2 separate regions of the Homo sapiens genome follow, and region 2 is linked to region 1. The links are contacts of gene promoters, found by promoter capture Hi-C in blood cells and fetal thymus (Javierre and others, 2016). All regions are on one chromosome and are shown on one strand. Each heading gives the region's core, a stretch centred on a gene start or on the middle of the fragment in contact. The rest is flanking DNA. Distances are from core to core; before and after follow the strand shown. Region 1 holds the start of GP6 (glycoprotein VI platelet). Region 2 has its middle 3.7 kb from the start of FCAR.

Evidence for each region. The method cuts DNA at HindIII sites, captures the fragments that hold promoters and counts their contacts. A CHiCAGO score of 5 or more calls a contact.
Region 2: a contact is called between a fragment that was not itself captured here and the fragment with the promoter of GP6 in region 1, in 1 of 17 cell types (M2 macrophages). The highest score is 5.4, in M2 macrophages.

What each region holds. Positions count from the first base shown.
Region 1 is chr19:55,036,971-55,039,670 of GRCh38, forward strand. It overlaps GP6 (glycoprotein VI platelet), which reads right to left and starts at 1,294. Exons shown (of 8, transcript NM_016363.5): 1 at 1,233-1,294. The coding sequence starts at 1,266. All of the region lies in intron 2 of GP6-AS1 (GP6 antisense RNA 1), which reads left to right. It also overlaps a transcript of RDH13 not described here. The HindIII fragment of the contact is 26,016 bases long and covers 1-2,700 here.
Region 2 is chr19:54,869,221-54,871,920 of GRCh38, forward strand. No RefSeq gene overlaps it. Among named protein-coding and RNA genes, the nearest start is that of FCAR, 3.7 kb to the right of the region's middle. The HindIII fragment of the contact is 5,393 bases long and covers 1-2,700 here.

The sequences.
Region 1 (2,700 bases), core at 44-2,543:
ATTGCATTCCAGCCTGAGCGACCGACTGAGCGAGACTCCATCTCAAAAAACAAACAAAAAGAAAAAAAGAATACATCCATGGATGGATAATGAATGAGAGGTTGTTTATATTCACAGTTAACCCTCTCATCTCCAGTAATGCAACCATCTTCTTCCTGCTTAGCCTTTTGGAGATGCTGTCCCTTTAGTGGTCAAATTCTGAAGAAATCAGGAAATAATGCATTCGACATGCCCAGCACAAGTGAAGATCAGGCAGCAGAAATGCATTCGACCTGCCACCCATCCATCAGGAGACTATTTACTCCACTACTGTAGGGGATACTGACAAATTAAATCCATACCTAGTCCAGATATCAATTCCACAATTTTTTTTTTTTTTTTTTTGAGACGGAGTTTCGCTCTTGTTGCCCAGGCCAGAGTGCAATGGTGTGATCTTGGCTCACCGCAACCTCCACCTCCCAGGTTCAAGCGATTCTCCTGCCTTAGCCTCCAGAGTAGCTGGGATTACAGGCATGTGCCACCACACCCGGCTAATTTTGTATTTTTAGTAGAGATGGGGTTTCTCCATGTTGGTCAGGCTGGTCTCAAACTCCCGACCTCAGATGGCCCACCCGCCTCGGCCTCCCAAAGTGTGTAAGCCATGGCACTCAGCCTTTTTTTTTTTTTTTTTTTTTTTTTTTGAGATGGAGGCTCTCTCTGTTGCCCAGGCTGGAGTGCAATGCCTGACCTCAGCTCACTGCAACTTCTGCCTCCCAGTTTCAAGCAATTCTCCCACCTCAGCCTCCCACGTAGCTGGGATTACAAGCACCCGCCATCACGCCCGGCTAATTTTTGTAGAGATGGGGTTTCACCATGTTGACCAGGCTGGTCTTGAACTCCTGACCTCAGGTGATCCACCCACCTCGGCCTCCCAAGGTTGAGATTACAGGCGTGAGCCACTGTGCCTGGCCCACATTTTTTAAAAAAGGGGCAACTGCAGTGTAGTAGAACAAAGTTGTGACCAATGCTAGGATACTCTGTTCATTTCCTGACCCAGCCATGAATACACTGGAATAACTCATGCAAAATGCCAGCTCGCTGGCCCCCCGTTTCCCCACCCAACAAATGAAGGGGCTCTTACAGGTTCCTTTTTGTCCTGAAATTCATCACCAATGCAAATTTCTTAAAAATCCTTTGTCTGGCAGTCCATGCCTGTCCTTCAGCATTTCCCAGATCTGACCCTCAGGACTCACCAAGACAGAAGAGGGCGGTCGGGGATGGAGACATGGTTCCTCAGCCCTGTCCTGAGCTCTGTGGCCAGGGAGGGAAGTGGTGGGAGCCTGGGGCACAGGCTCAGGATGTGATGAGGATGAAGAATGCTCTCCTCCCTTCCTCCACCAGCCCCGGCCTTTCCTAATTGAGACTCATCGAGCCGTAGCCGGCTCCTCAGTACAGTGACTTGCACACAAGCTCCAAGGAGCCGCGCTTATCTCCTCTGGCCAGCCTGGCGTTGCACCGTTTGTCCGCCTGCTGGGGCCTGGTCTGTGTTCCCGTGCTCCCATAAACTCCCTGATGTCACTAGGAAAATACGCATCAAAACCACAGTGAGATATGACTTCACACCTTCTGGAATGGCTGTATTTTTTTTTTTTCTTTTGAGACAAAGTCTCGTTCTTTTTGCCCAGGTTGGAGTGCAGTGGCGCCATCTCGGCCCACTACAACCTCCACCTCCCAGGTTCAAGCGATTCTCCTGCCTCAGCCTCCCAAGTGGCTGGGATTATAGGTATGTACCACACCAGGCTAATTTTTGTATTTTTAGTAGAGATGGGGTTTCACTGTGTTGGCCAGGCTGGTCTTGAACTCCTGACCTCAGTTGATCCACCTGCCTCGGTCTCCCAAAGTGCTGGGATTACAGGCATGAGCCACTGCACCCGACCGGCTATAATTTTTTTTAATGGAAAACAGCAGATATTGGTGAGTATGCAGAGAAATTGAACTGCGCGTGCATTGCTGGCAGGGACGTAACATGGCGCCCCTGCTGTGGAAAACAGTTCCAGCAGCTCCTCCAGAAGTTAAACGTGGGATTGCCATAAAATCCAGCAATTCCACTTCGGGGTACACACCTAAAAGAACTGAAAACAGGGTCTCTAACATATTTGTACACAGTGTTCATAGCAGCTTTATTCACAATAGCCAAAAGGTGAAACCACCCACATGTCCATCAACAACAATGGATAAACAACATGTGGTATATACACACAAGGTAATATCAACCAGCCTTAACTAAAAGAATAAAAATCAGCCAGGCACAGTGGCTCACGCCTGTAATCCCAGCACTTTGGGAGGCCGAGGCGGGCGGATCACCTGAGGTCAGGAGTCCGAGACCAGCCTGGTTAACATGGTGAAACCCCATCTCTACTAAAAATACAAAAATTAGCTGGGCGTTAAATTAGCCGGGCATGGTGGCAGGTGCCTGTAATCCCAGCTACTTGGGAGACGGAGGCATGAGAATCGCTTGAACCTGGGAGGCAGAGATTGCGGTAAGCCGAGATCGCACCACTGCACTCCAGCCTGGGCGGCAGAGTGAGACTGTCTCAAAAATAAAAATAAGGCCGGGCGTGGTGGCCCATGCCTGTAATCCTAGTACTTTAGGAGGCTGAGGCAGGCAGATTGCCTGAGCTCAGCAGTTCAAGACCAGCCTGGGCAACACAGTAAAACCCC
Region 2 (2,700 bases), core at 195-2,694, 170 kb before region 1:
CGCCCTGCTAATTTTTTGTATTTTTAGTAGAGACGGGGTTTCACTGTGTTAGCCAGGATGGTCTCGATCTCCTGACCTCGTGATCCGCCTGCCTCGGCCTCCCAAAGTACTGGGATTACAGGCATGAGCCACCACGCCCGGCTGGGAGAGTAGATCTTAAGGGTCCTCACCACAAAAAAAAAAAAAAGAAAGAAAGAAAAAGAAACCATAGGCCGGGCGCGGTGGCTCACGCCTGTAATCCCAGCACTTTGGGAGGCCAAGACGGGCAGATCACTTGAGGTCAGGAGTTCAAGACCAGCATGGCCAACATGGTGAAACCCTGTCTCTACTAAAAATGCAAACATTAGCCAGGCGTGGTGACACAAGCCTGTAATCCCAGCTACTCAGGAGGCTGAGGCACGAGAATTGCTGGAACCTGGGAGCGGAGGTTGCAGTGAGCCAAGATGGCACCACTGCACTCTAGCCTGGGGGACAGAGTAAGACTTCCTCTCAAAAAAAAAAAAAAAAAAAAAACAATAACCCTGCGAGATGATGGATATAACTAGCTTGACTATGATGATCATGTCACCATGTATACATACATCAAAACATCAAGTGTAATACACCTTAAATATATACAATTTCCATTTGTCAATCATATCTCAATAAAGCTAAAAGAAACCTCTAAGTTTCAACTTTATTTTCAGAAAGCTGTGCCATGCTTACCTCAGTGCCTAAGTATACTCTAATTCATGGAAATGGCCTTTAAAACTGCAGAGAGTGGCTGGGTGCAGTGGCTCACGCCTATAATCCCAGCACTTTGGGAGGCGGAGGTGGGCAGATCACGAGGTCAGGAGTTCGAGATCAGCCTGGCCAACATGGTGAAACTCTGTCTCTACTAAAAATACAAAAAATAGCTGGGCATGGTGGCAGGTGCCTGTAAATCTGAGATACTCAGGAGGCTGAGACAGGAGAATCGTTTGAACTGGGGAGGCAGAGGTTGCAGTGAGCCGAGATCCTGCCATTGCACTCCAGCCTGGGCGACAGGGTGAGACTCCATCTCAAAAAAAAAAAAAATACTGCAGAGAGTTAAGGCCCTCACTGGACACTCTCCGGTACCTCTGAGGTCAGTGGATAGAGAAGCAGCTCCCCTTCTTCTTCCTCGAAACAAAGGCCTCCTTCCTTCTTAGGTGTTTGAGACAAATTCTCCACACAGGTGCAGCTGAGTGCTGTAAAGTCCCACTGAGAGTTGAAGGTCCCCACTGCCAGTCACAGTTCGGTCCCACTGAGGGTTGAAGGTCCCCACTGCCAGTCACAGTTTGGTCCCATTGAGGGTTGAGAGTCTCCACTGCCAGTCACAGTTTGGTCCCATTGAGGGTTGAGAGTCTCCACTGCCAGTCAGTTTGGGCTTATTAGGGTTTATGCTGTGCACGGAGAATGGAACCTACCAATCAACTCTTAGTGACCAGTTAGACAGATTCAAGGCAAATTTCCCTGCTGGGAAATCCCAAATCCCAAAATATGCAGAGACCAATAGATGCCTCAATTCTTCCGTGTCTCCGTCTAAATCCTTGGGTCACTGTGACTCCTGTAGTTATGTGGCTTGTAATTCCTTGGGCCGTAGAATGGCTATGATAGGCCCTGTGCTAAGGGGACTGGTGACAGTTGAGACAGGAACATGGAAGCTATAGTAGTCAGGGTTCTCCAGAAAAAAAAATAATCAACACTAATAATGATAGATATATAGATAATGATTGATAGACAAATAATGATAGATATATAATGATATCACAAATAATGATAGACATATAGTTGGATAATGACAGATATATAATGATTGATACACAGATAGGGTATTTATATATTGGCTTATGCAACTATGTAGACTGACAGGTCCCATGATCTGCCATCTGCAAGCTGGAGACCCAGGGGAGTCCACGTGTAGTTCCAGTCTACGTGCAAAAGTCTGAGAACCAGTAGAGTTAGTGGTATACGTAACAGTCCAAAAGCTAGCAGGCTCATGCCGGGCATGATGGCTCACGCCTGTAATCCCAACACTTTGGGAGACCAAGGCAGGCAGATCACCTGAGGTCAGAGTTCAAGACCAGCCCGGCCAACATGGTGAAACCCCATCTTTACTAAAAATACAAAAATTAGCCGGGCATAGTGGCATTCGCTTGTAATCCCAGCTACTCAGAGGCTGAGGTACGAGAATTGCTTGAACCCAAGAGGTGAAGGTTGCAGTGAGCCGAGATCATGCCACAGCACTCCAGCCTGGGTGACAGAGTGAGACTCTATCTCAAAAAAACAAACAAACAAAAAAAGCTGGCAGGCTTAACATCTAAAGAGTCAATGTTTTAGTGAGAGTTCAAGAGCCAGAAAAGACTGATGTCCAGGCAAAAGGAACTTCATCTTACATTACCAGTTCAATGTTTTGTTCTATTCAGGTCCCACCTGATTGAATGAGGCCGACTCACATTAGGGAGAGCAATCTGCTTTATAAATTACACTAATTCCATTGATAATCTCATTCAGCAACACCCCCACAGACACACACAGAATAATGTTTAACCAAATATCTCAGCACCCCATGGCTACGTTACCATTCCTGTTCCACAAAAGGAGGAAACAAAAGAACAAAACCACACCAAATGTTGTGGTAAGTTGACAAAATCTGTTCCAGCCCATTAGTAAATATTGGCCACTGAAGTTCCTGAAATT